Regions from separate parts of the Homo sapiens genome. Here region 2 is linked to region 1. Evidence: promoter capture Hi-C in 16 types of primary human blood cells and fetal thymus (Javierre and others, 2016). All regions are on one chromosome and are shown on one strand. The core of a region is centred on a gene start or on the middle of the fragment in contact, and the rest is flanking DNA. Distances in the headings are between cores, read along the strand shown.

Evidence for each region. The method cuts DNA at HindIII sites, captures the fragments that hold promoters and counts their contacts. A CHiCAGO score of 5 or more calls a contact.
Region 2: a fragment that was not itself captured here is called in contact with the fragment with the promoter of NPHS1 in region 1 in 1 of 17 cell types (neutrophils); the score reaches 6.4 in neutrophils.

Annotation. Positions count from the first base shown.
Region 1 is chr19:35,851,254-35,857,440 of GRCh38, reverse strand. NPHS1 (NPHS1 adhesion molecule, nephrin) reads left to right here and starts at 4,937. Exons shown (of 29, transcript NM_004646.4): 1 at 4,937-5,661; 2 at 5,769-5,984; 3 at 6,057-6,179. The coding sequence starts at 5,604. KIRREL2 (kirre like nephrin family adhesion molecule 2) reads right to left here and starts at 530. Exons shown (of 15, transcript NM_199180.4): 1 at 261-530; 2 at 1-96. The coding sequence starts at 321. RefSeq lists enhancers at 5,009-5,650, 5,651-6,187. The HindIII fragment of the contact is 3,857 bases long and covers 2,471-6,187 here.
Region 2 is chr19:35,235,452-35,241,638 of GRCh38, reverse strand. No RefSeq gene overlaps it. Among named protein-coding and RNA genes, the nearest start is that of FAM187B, 9.8 kb to the right of the region's middle. The HindIII fragment of the contact is 5,085 bases long and covers 513-5,597 here.

The DNA.
Region 1 (6,187 bases), core at 3,688-6,187:
GCCCCCAGTAGGCGCCCAGAGCACACGGCAGCCGGGCTTCCTCCCCCAGCAGCACCACCAGGTCCTCTGGCTGTTGCAGGAAATGGGGCGACGGGCCTAGGAGAGTTCGGGGCAGCAGGGCTGAGCTTAGCACCTTCAGGGGCCTCCTCATTCAGGACCCAGGAGTCCCAGCCCCCAGCTCCCTTCTCGCTAGTGAAGAGGCAGCCCGCAAGCAACTCCCCACCCCCACCCCATATTCCTCCGCTCCCCTCGTGCGGTACCTGCTCTCCCTCTGAAGCAGAAGAGGAGGACGAGGAGGGCGGGGACCCGCATCCTGAGCATTCGTCCCCCAAGGTTCACGAGATTTGCCGTCGCACTGGCCTTCCCGTCAACTTCTTCCTCTCAAGCACGCCTCCTGTCACCCTGGCCCGGAGCCCCCTTCACGCTCGACTCTTCGCCCAGCCTAGTCTCTGGCCTGGAGTCCTCCAAGTCTGCTCATCCGCAGCCTCTGACGCTCTGAAACGCCTGCCAGTTCCGCGGCCTGGGTCTCTGGGAGACCCCAAGAGGGCCCGATCCCGCTCGCCCCGCCCGGGTCCGCCCCCCGGGAGCTCCGCCCTCTTCCCGTTGAGAAACTCCCGCGGCTGAGACGCGGATGAATGGGGGACGCAGGGCGGGATCCCCCGGCGGGTGGGCGCCCCCAGCTCAATTGGGGTCTGGGAGCCGGAACACCTGGGTTCGAGGAGGGAGGGGGTCCCGGCTGGGTTGGACACCTGCGCCCTGCCGGGGTTGAGGGGCAGGCAAGGGGTGAGGAGGAGGGAAGGGAGAGAGTGGAAGAAACTTGCTCAGCCCAGGTCCTAGAGGGACTGCGCTCAGTGGAAACTGAGCTATAAATGGGAGCTCCTGGGGCCTCGCCAGTTTCCGCGCCCTGGGGGATGCGGGGTCCGGGGCTCCCCCGGGCCTGCGTGTCGGGAAGAGGGCACACCGATACCTGGGGGACAGTTGGGACCCCTACCTCGACTCCCCCAGCCTCAAAACCCCTCCTCAAAATATCCCTCTGTTCCCTTGTTATTGCTGCAAACTACAGCACGTCCTAAGACCCAGGAATCCAGGCCCTCGGCCCCTCCTTTCCCAGGACCCCGCAGTCCCAGCCCAACCCCTCTCCCCACTCGGCCGGCCGGGCCCCTCGGCCTGGTTGCCCGGCGACGGCTGGGAGGCGGCGGTGCCGGGCCGGGGCAGGCAGGGAGGCTGGGAACCGCGCAGCTTGTCCTGACGGCTCCATGCAGCCCAGCTGGGGCGTTCCCACGCTGCGCAGCTGGCCGAGCAGGTGGGAGGGACCCCGAGCAGCCTGAAGGAGGGCTGGGGGGCTGGGACCCTGATCTGACATTCCTGGACCTGTAAGAACTGGAGGGTCCACATTCAGATTCTCCACTGTTCTTAGGCTCAGACTCCGTGTCCCTAAATGGGGGAGTGGGGTTGGGAGTGGGGGTTGGACTTACAGGGTTATAAGGGACTGGTGGTTCAGGCCTTTGCTGGCTGAGACGCTGATGGCCTGATCTCCCGGTTCCTTGAGAGGCTGGAGACTCAAGGTGCACTCAAGTGCATGGTGCACTTGGAAGAGGGTGACAGGGGTCAGAATATCTGGTCTTAAGTCTTAAGAGTCGGTGGATCTATCTGCCAATCTCTCCCCACCCCCACACAGGCCCAGGAGGATTTGGAAATCAGACCGTGAACATCTGTCCTAAGTCCTGTGTGTATGTGTGTGTGTGTGTGTGTGTGTGTGTGTGTGTGTGTGTGTGTGTGTGTGTATGGGGAGGTGCGGGGGTGGGTAGTGTGGCCAGGAGGATCAGAGGCCCAAATTCCCGAGTCCTTGGAGAGAAGGGACTGAGACCCCAGGGTCTGAGAGGGGAGGGATCTGGGGGCCTACACTCCCGGCTTCTGTGTGGCTTATCTAGTGCCTGGATTTTGAAATAGGATGGACATGGGGCTGGAACTCCTGAGTCTTAGGGAGGAACTCAAGTCATGGGGCTGTTTTTCCAGGCACTTGACGCCGCTTCCCCTTCCTGGCTCTCTGGGGCTACGGACATGGAAAGATGGAGAGCCCAAGGTCCCAGGAGCATGCAGAGAAGGAAAACAGCCAAGGTGGAGGGTGGAAGGTTTGTGCTTATTAAAGGCCCCAGCAAGGGACAGCTCCACGCTCTGGCACCTAGGGACACCATCTGGCGAGGGCCCCCAGGACAGAGCCACTCCCCCAGCTCGGCATCCAGCCCATTTCCCAGGGGGTGTAGAGAGCAGTTGGGAGAGGGGAGGTGGGAGGAGGGCAAGGAGTCAAGCATGTGAGGGAAGATGGAAGTCCAGCATCGAGGATGAAGCTGGGGGCTGAGGCCAGATGCCTCATCTTGTTCCTGGGAACGATATTGGCGGGGGTCTTGGGGAGGTAGGGAGAAAACTAGCATTTCCAATTCCCGCAGGAGATAAGCAGGCAGAAGAAGCTTATCCCAGGCAAGTGTATGTGCACGCGGGGAGGGCAGGCCCACCAGCATATGGTTATAAAATCCAGGGATGTGATGAGCAGAGCCACTCGGAGATGGAGAGACACATAAGAGAAAGAGGCGTGGTCAGAGTGTGGCTGAGAACAAATATTTATGGAGCTCCTGGTGTGTGTGAGACAGACTGTGGGGTGAGGGGAGCGACAGAGGTGAGAACAGAGACAGAGAAACAGAATAACAGAGACATATAGAGATGGAGAGACACAGTGAAATAAAGATTGACTGAGATTTAACAACTTAATATAGAGAGCGAGAGAGTCTCAAACAGATGGAGAAAGATAGAAAGATAAATCAGCTGGGCACAATGACTCACGCCTGCAATCCCAGCACTTTGGGAGGCCGAGTCAGGCTGATCACCTGAGGTCAGGAGTTCGAGACCAGCCTGATCAACATGGAGAAACCCCGTCTTTACTAAAAATACAAAAAATTAGCCAGGCGTGGTGGCGCATGCCTGTAATCCCAGCTACTAGGGAGGCTGAGGCAGGAGAATCGCCTGAACCCGGGAGGCAGAGGTTGCAGTGAGCCGAGATCACACTATTACACTCCAGTCTGGGCAACAAGAGTGAAACTCCATCTCAAAAAAAGAAAAAAGAGAAAAAAGAAAAAAAAGAAAGATAAATCAAGGGCCAGGTGCGGTGGCTCATGCCTGTAATCCTAGTACTTTGGGAGGCCGAGATGGGAGGATTGCTTGAGCCCAGGAGTTCCAGACAAGCCTGGGCAATATAGCAAGACTCTGTCTCTGCAAAAACATTTAAAAAAAATTAGCCAAGTGGCGGGGTGCAGCGGCTCCCACCTGTAATCCCAGCACTTTGGGGGGCCAAGGCAGGTGGGTTACCTGAGGTCAGGAGTTCGAGACCTGCCTGGCCAACATGGCGAAACCCCGTCTCTACTAAAAATACAAAAATTAGCTGGGTGTGGTGGTCAATGCCTGTATTCCCAGCTACTCAGGAGGCTGAGGCAGGAGAATCGCTTGGACCTGGGAGGCGGAGGTTACAGTGAGCCAACATCGCACCATTGCACTCCAGCCTGGGTGACAGAGCAAGACTCCCTCTCAAAAAAAAAAAAAAAAAAAAAAAAATAGCCAGAGTGGTGATGCGGGCCTGTAGTCCCAGCTACTCAGGAGGCTGAGGCAGAAAGAACACTTGAGCCTAGGAGGTTTGAGGCTTCAATGAGCCATGATCACACCACTGCACTCCAGCCTGGGCAATAGAGAAAGACCCTGTCTCTACAAACAAATTTTAAAAAATTAGCTGGAGTGGTGGTGTGCACCTGTAGTCCCAGCTATTCAGGAGGCTGAGGCAGGAGGATCACCTGAGCCCAGGAAGTTGAGGCTGCAATGAACCAAGATCATGCCACTGCCCTCCAGCCTGGGCAACAGAGCAAGATTCCATCTCAAAAGAAAGAAAGATAAATCAAGATAGATAGAGGGAGGGAGAGAGAGAGACATGGAGAAGGAAAGAAGAGATGGGAGAGAGGGCAAGAAAAAGAGGGAGAAGAAAGCTCATGCAGTCCTTGCCAAAGGGCGCCCACTTTGGGCTCACACTGCACCCACACTGGGGGCCGGTGGAATTGGACTCTGCCTTTTACTCCCGCCCACACCCTGTGCACTCCCACGTAAGACACTGTCACACACACGCTCTCCACATGCTTATTACAGATCGCAGTTCACTCTAACCTTCCCCACTCTCACACCCACGTACACACATGCATATCTTCCCTCTCTCCCACACTCTCCCAGCCTGTCACACTCACTCTTGCATCCTCCCCAGCAGAGATCCCTGACATCATTTAGGCACTGATGTCTACTAAAAAAGGAAGGGAGGCCAGGTGCGGTGGCTCATGTCTGTAATCCCAGCATTTTGGGAGGCTGAGGCAGATGGATCACCTGAGGTCAGGAGTTCGAGACCAGCGTGGCCAACATGATGAAACCCCGTCTCTAGTAAAAATACAAAAATTAGCCAGGCATGGTGCTATATACCTGTAGCACCAGCTACTTGGGAGACAGAGGTGGGAGAATTACTTGAACCTGGGAGGTTCAAGCCATGGGAGGTGGAAGTTGCAGTGAGCCGAGATGCCACTGCACTCCAGCCTGAGCAACAGAGCAAGACTATCTCAAGAAAAGAAAGAAAGAAAGAAAGAGACTTGCCAAGGTCATGTATCAGGGCAAGGAAGAGCTGGGGGCCCAGCTGGCTGCTCCCCTGCTGAGCTGGGAGACCACCTTGATCTGACTTCTCCCATCTTCCCAGCCTAAGCCAGGCCCTGGGGTCACGGAGGCTGGGGAGGCACCGAGGAACGCGCCTGGCATGTGCTGACAGGGGATTTTATGCTCCAGCTGGGCCAGCTGGGAGGAGCCTGCTGGGCAGAGGCCAGAGCTGGGGGCTCTGGAAGGTACCTGGGGGAGGTTGCACTGTGAGAATGAGCTCAAGCTGGGTCAGAGAGCAGGGCTGACTCTGCCAGTGCCTGCATCAGCCTCATCGCTCTCCTAGGCTCCTGGCCTGCTGGACTCTGGGCTGCAGGTCCTTCTTGAAAGGCTGTGAGTAGTGAGACAAGGAGCAGGAGTGAGGGGTGGCAGGAGAGAAGATAGAGATTGAGAGAGAGAGAGAGAGAGAGACAGAGAGAGAGGAAGAGACAGAGACAAAAGGAGAGAGAACGGCTTAGACAAGGAGAGAAAGATGGAAAGATAAAGAGACTGGGCGCAGTGGCTCACGCCTGTAATCCCAACACTTGGGGAGGCCAAGGTGGGAGGATGGCTTGAAGGAAAGAGTCTGAGATCAACCTGGCCAACATAGTGAGACCCCGTCTCTAAAAAAAAAAAAAAGAAAAAAAAAAGAAAAAAGAAAAAAAAGTTTTTTTAAAGAGACAGAGAAAGAGACTCAGAGATTGAGACTGAGAGCAAGACAGAGAGAGATACTCACAGGGAAGAGGGGAAGAGGAAAACGAGAAAGGGAGGAGAGTAACGGAAAGAGATAAAAAAGAAAAGCAGGTGGCAGAGACACACAGAGAGGGACCCAGAGAAAGCCAGACAGACGCAGGTGGCTGGCAGCGGGCGCTGTGGGGGTCACAGTAGGGGGACCTGTGATGGCCCTGGGGACGACGCTCAGGGCTTCTCTCCTGCTCCTGGGGCTGCTGACTGAAGGTGAGTGGGATCCCAGCCTTGTACCCAGCGCCAAGTGGCCCCCATTTCCCACTTACCTTCCCTAGACAAACCCTCTGCCCTTTCCTTGCACCGCGCTGTGTCCTCAGGCCTGGCGCAGTTGGCGATTCCTGCCTCCGTTCCCCGGGGCTTCTGGGCCCTGCCTGAAAACCTGACGGTGGTGGAGGGGGCCTCAGTGGAGCTGCGTTGTGGGGTCAGCACCCCTGGCAGTGCGGTGCAATGGGCCAAAGATGGGCTGCTCCTGGGCCCCGACCCCAGGATCCCAGGCTTCCCGAGGTACCGCCTGGAAGGGGACCCTGCTAGAGGTAAGGGATCAGAGCCTGAGACCCTCAGCCACCAGCGGAAGCTGCGGCCCTGACTTCCGGCTCCCCCTGCAGGTGAATTCCACCTGCACATCGAGGCCTGTGACCTCAGCGATGACGCGGAGTATGAGTGCCAGGTCGGCCGCTCTGAGATGGGGCCCGAGCTCGTGTCTCCCAGAGTGATCCTCTCCATCCTGGGTATGGGT
Region 2 (6,187 bases), core at 1,806-4,305, 610 kb after region 1:
CTTCCTGTCCCTCAGACTCAATAAATTTTCCTGTCACCAAGTTTGCTGATTTTTCTTCTGCCTGCTCAAATCTGTTTTTGAGCCCCTTCAGTGAATTTTTTATTTCAGTTAATTGTATTTTTAGCTCCAGAATTTTCCTTTTGGTTCCTTTTTGCATTTTCTGTCTTTTTGCTGATATTCTTCTTTTGTTCATACATCATTTTTCTGTCTTCGTCTATGTCTCCTTTAGCTGTTTGAGCATCTTTGAGACAGTTATTTATGTCTTTGTCTAGTAAGTCTACCACCTGGGCTTCCTCAGGTATTGTTTATTTATTTTTTCTTTGAATGGGCCATACTCTCTTGTTTCTTTGTATGTATGTCTTGTGACTTTTTTGTTGAAAATGGACATTTGAATCTTACAATGTGCTAACTCTGGAAATCAGCTTTTCCCCATTCCCCAGGGTTTGCTGGTTTTTTTGTTTGTTTATTGTTATAAGATGTATCTGTGCTAGAATCAACCTAAAATGAAAGCTTATGATCATCTTAGGTCTTTTCTGAATTTGCATCTTTCCCTGAGCTTGTGCAGTGACTTTCTAAATTCCCTTGTATGCACAGTTGCTTTTGAATATCCTAATCCCTAAATGTCCACCTTCCAAAGGGAACAAAAGGGGAGAAAATCCAGTGGCTATCCCTTTATACCTTCTGGAAGCCAGTTCAGCTGGTGGGGATTAAGCCAATCATGGCCCACCCCCTGTGTCTGCACAACCATGATCAGAAGTAGTAATCCAGAGTCCCAACACAGAACTCTGATATTTGGAGGATGAGTCCATATTGCTAACCCCTAGATAATAATACTGGCTGATACTTTATAGATAACATCTCATCAAATCCACACAAGAGCACTATGTGGCCAGTACAATTAAAATCCTTTGAAAATAAGGAAACGGAGGGTCACAGAGTGAAAGCCATTTGATCAGTCTTTCATTGCTGGAAGAGACTTCACTGAAGTTCCTCATCTATGTAAGAAAGAGAAAGCAGCCTCTAACAGCTGGGAGCTGGCCTAACAGTAACAACTGGGTCTTGGTGTTGCTAGCAGCTTGTCTAGAATGCACTGTTAGGTCATGATGTTCTCCTGTTGAAGGTGAACAATGTTCACAGAACAACAACAACAAAGGCCTGTCTGTGACTCTGATGCATCTAGATAGAAACAAGACTGCTCTGTAATTATGCCTGCACAGAGACAAAACAGGAACACTGTCCAAACCACAAAATATCAAGCATCCCCTTCTCTCAGCTGATCTGAATGGCTGCTGTTTCTTTACCAATTTCAGTTTTAGCTTTGCTCCGTTCTTCTCACCTTCTAGAAAAGATAGAATTGGTTACACTCGTGGTGGGCAAAGGACATGACCAAACACTTTTCAAAAGAAAATATACATCTGGCCAAGAATCATATAAAAAAGCTCAACATCACTAATCATTAGTGAAACGCAAATCAAAACCACCATGAGATACCATCTCACATCAGTCAGAATGGCTATTATTAAAAAGTCAAAAAACAACATGCTGGCGAGGTTGCAGAGAAAAAGGAATGCTTACACACTGTTGGTGGGAGTGTTAATTAGCATGTAAGACAGTGTGGCAATTCCTCAAAGACCTAAAAACAGAACTACCATTCAACCTAACAAGCCCATTACTGGGTATACACCCAAAGAAATATAAATTGTTCTATCATAAAGACACATGCACACTTATATTCATTGCAGCACTATTCACAATAGCAAAGACATAGGATCAACCTAAATGTCCATCAATGGTAGACTGGATTAAAAAAATGTGGTACATATACACTATGGAATACTATGCAGCCATAAAAAAGAATGAAATCATGCCCTTTGCAGGAACAAGAATGGAGCTGAAGGTCATTATCCTTAGCAAACTAATGCAGAAAGAGAAAACTAAATACCGCATGTTCTCCCTTATAAGTGGAATCTAAATGATGAGAACACAAATACATAAAGGGGAACAACACACACTGGAGCCTATCAGAGGGTAGAGTGTGGGAGGAGGGAGAGGATCAGGAAAAATAGCTAAGGGGTACTAGGCTTAATACCTGGGTGATGAAATTATATGTACAACAAACCCCCATGATATAAATTTACCTCTATAAGAAACCTGCACACATACCCCTGAACTTAAAATCAAAAGTTTGAAAAAAAAGAATTGGTTACACTTTTTGATAGCACCCAACCCAAAGCAAATCCCCACTTCTTTGAATCCTTCCCACAATCATACAACACAGCCCAAATTCTGTTAGTCTTCTCTGACACCTTCCTGAGACACCACACCATTCCCCATGGTGTACATCTGCCCTCACTGCAGCAAGTCAAAAAACCTAACTTTGTTCATAGGTGCATGCCTGATTGTCTTTGGCTGATGGGTATTCACATAGCAAACCTGTTCCCACCTCAAGACCTTTGCATGTGCGGTGTGCTTAGTTCAGACCTTGCTTTCTCTGGATTTTTTTTTTTTTTTTTTTTTTTTTTTGAGACAGAGTCTCACTCTGTCACCCAGGCTAGAATGCAGTGGCACAATCTCAGCTCACTACAACCTCCACCTCCCAGGTTGAAGCAATTCTCCTGTCTCAGCCTTCTGAGTAGCTGGGATTATAGGCGTGCACCACCACACCTGGATAATTTTTGTATCTTTAGTAGAGATGGGGTTTCACCATGTTGGCCAGGCTGGTCTTGAACTCATGATCTCAGGTGCTCCACTTGCCTCAGCCTCCCAAAGTGCTGGGATCACAGGCATGAGCCGCTGTGTGAATCTTCATAACCATCTTATATAGGTCTGCTCAAATGTCACTTCTTCAGAGAAGCCTTCTCTTCTCACCTACCTCTCTCCCCACAGGCTGGGCATGGTGTCCCACACCTGTAATCCCAGTACTTTGGGAGGCTGAGACAGGAGGATAGTTTGAGGCTGTAAGTTTAAGACAAGCCTCTACATGGTGTATACATTTTCTTTATCCAGTCTACCATCTCTACCAAAAATTTTAAAAATTAGCTAGGCATGGTGGCACGTCCCTGTAGTCCTAGCTACTTAGGAGGCTGAGACAGGAGAATCACTTGAACCCAGGAGTTTCAGGCTGCAGTGAGCTATGATTACACCACTGCACTCCAGCCTGGGTGACAGAATGAGACCCTGTCTCAAAACAAATGAATAAATAAAAATAAAATAGTCTCTATATTAGTTGGCTAGGGCTGCCATAACAAACACCAGAGACTGGGTGGTTTAAACAACAGAAATTTATTTCTTCGCAATTCTGTAAGCTAGAAGTCCAAAATCAAGGTGTTGGCAGGTTTGGTTTCATTCTGAGGCCTTTCTTCTTGGTGTGCAGATGGTTCCCTTTTCACTATGTCCTCACATGGTCATCCCTCTGCCTGGGTTCTAATTCCCTCATCTTTTAAGGGCACTAGTCATATTGGATTAGAACCCACTCTAACAACCCTATTTTAACTTAATTACCTCTTTAAAAGCCCTGTTTCCCAATACAGTCATATTCTGAGGTATTGGGGGTCAGTGTTTCAACATATGAACTTGTGGGGTCATAATTCATCCCCTAATAGTCTCCATCCCCAATCTCTCTTTGCGCCTTCTTTTTTTCTTCAAAGCATTTACCATGACCTGATGTTTTATTAGTCATTTATTTGTTTACCATCTGTGTATTAGTCTATTTGCTTGCTACTATGAAGAAATATCTGAGACTGGGTAATTTCTAAAGAAAAAGATGTTTAATGGACTCAGAGCTGCACATGGCTGGGGAGGCCTCATAATCATGGCAGAAGGCAAAGGAGGAGCAAAGGCGTGTCTTACATGGCGGCAGGCAAGCAACTGTGTGTAGGGGAACTGCCCTTTATAAAACCATCAGATCTCACCAGGCATGGTGGCTCATGCCTGTAATCCCAGCACTTTGGGAGGCCGAGGCAGGTGGATCATTTGAGGTCAGGAGCTCAAGACCAGCCTGGCCAACATGGTGAAACCCCCTCTCTACTAAAAATATGAAAATTAGCTGGGCATGGTGGTGCACATCTGTAATTCCAGCTACTCAGGAGGCTGAGGCACAAGAATCGCTTGAACCAGGGAGGCAGAGGTTGCTGTCAGCTGAGATCGTGCCACTGCACTTCAGCCTGGGCAGCAGCAGAGTGAGACTCTCCCTCAAAAAAAAAAAAAAAAAAAAAAGAAAGAAAGAAAGAAAGAAAAAAACCATCAGATCTTGTGAGACTTATTCACTATCATGAGAATAGCATGGGAAAAACCTGCTCTCATGATTCAATTACCTCCCATCGGGTCCTTCCCATGACACGTGGGGATTATGAGAGCTACAATATGAGATGAGGTTTGGGTGGGGACACAGCCAAACCATATCACTGACCAAAGCATTCAATTGCCAGTTCATGATTTGCTATACTCCCTTATCCTGCCATAGCAACTAATGATGTTGCAGATGGTACCACCTCTGTTAGCCACAGTATCTGAAGGGACTTTGTGGAGTATAGCTCTCCCCAGCCAAATTTGGACATGTCGCATGAAAAAAAATTTTATTAAGCCACTAAGATTTTAGAATCCTTTGTTACATAGCATAACTTAACCTATCCTGACTAATACATCCCCACTAGGATGTAAGCTCCAAGAGGTCAGGGACTTAGCCTGGATCCTTGGTGTCTGGTGCAAGGTGGATGAGTGATATGGTTTGGTTTTGTGTCCCCGCCCAAGTCTCATCTTGAATTGTAATCCCCACAGGTCAAGGGAGGGACCCAGTGGAAGGTAATTGGATTATGGGAGTGGTTTCTCCCGTGCAGTGAGGGAGTTCTCATGAGATCTGATGCTTTAAAAGTAGCTGGCAGTTCCCTAATTGCTGTCTCTTTGCTGCCACCTTGTGAAGGTGCCTGCTTCCCTTTCGCCTTGCACCATGATTGGAAGTTTCCTGAGGCCTCCCCAGCCATGCAGAACTGTGAGTCAATTAATCTTCTTTTCCTTATAAATTTACCAGTCTCCAGTAGTTCTGGCCGGGTGCTGTGGCTCACATCTGTATTCCCAGCACTTTGGGAGGCCGAGGCGGGCAGATCACTTGAGGTCAGGAGTTCAAGACCAGCCTGGTCAACATGGTGAAACCCCGTCTCTACTAAAAATACAAAAATCAGCTGGGCATGGTGGTACATGCCTGTAATCCCACCTACTTGGGAGGCTGAGGGAAGAGAATTGCTTGAACCTGGGAGGCAAAGGCTGTAGTGAACCAAGATTGCACCACCGCACTCCAGCCTGGGGGCTAGAGAGTGAGACTCTGTCTCAAAAAAAAAAAAAAAGGAAAGTCTCAGCAACTTGCCTGGGGTCATGTGGCTCACACAGTGCCTGGCACAATTCTGGTACAACTAATATTTTCCCATCAGTCAATGCTGTGGAAGACATGGTTGGCTACACCAAATCAGCATTCTTTTCTACAACTCCCCTGCATACAAAACCCTGATTTTGTCTGGGTCTTCAGTGGCTTCTGCTAAGAAAAAGCTGACCTTACCCAATCCTAGGCAACAAATTCTAATTGGTTTAAGCCAACGATGTAAGCTTCATTTATTTTCAGAGATTGGTTTAGACCTGGGCATGGGCCCCAATCCTGGCCAGTAGAACTTTAGGGGAGAGCTGATGTGAGGATTTTGGAAATGGTTTTAACTCTGTGATATAAAGGAGAACACCAGAGGAAAAATCCCTTGTAATAGACATTAGCCATGGAAATCATTACTGCCATTTGCCAAAAGATTCCTGGAAATAGTAGAGTTCCATTTTTTTTTTTTTTTTTTTGAGATGGAGTCTTGCTCTGTCGCCCAGGCTGGAGTGCAGTGGCGCGATCTCGGCTCACTGCAAGCTCCGCCTCCCAGGTTCACGCCATTCTGCTGCCTCAGCCTCCCCAGCAGCTGGGACTACAGGTGCACACCGCCACGCCCGGCGAATTTTTTTGTATCTTTAATAGAGATGGGGTTTCACGGTGTTAGCCAGGATGGTCTCGATCTCCTGACCTCGTGATCCGCCGCCTCAGCCTCCCAAAGTGCTGGGATTACAGGCGTGAGGCACGGCGCCCAGCTAGAGTTCAATTTCTTTTGTTGGCTTGGTGGATTGGTGGTGCCATGTAGCTGTTTCTAGCCAATGGTTTGTGAGCAAG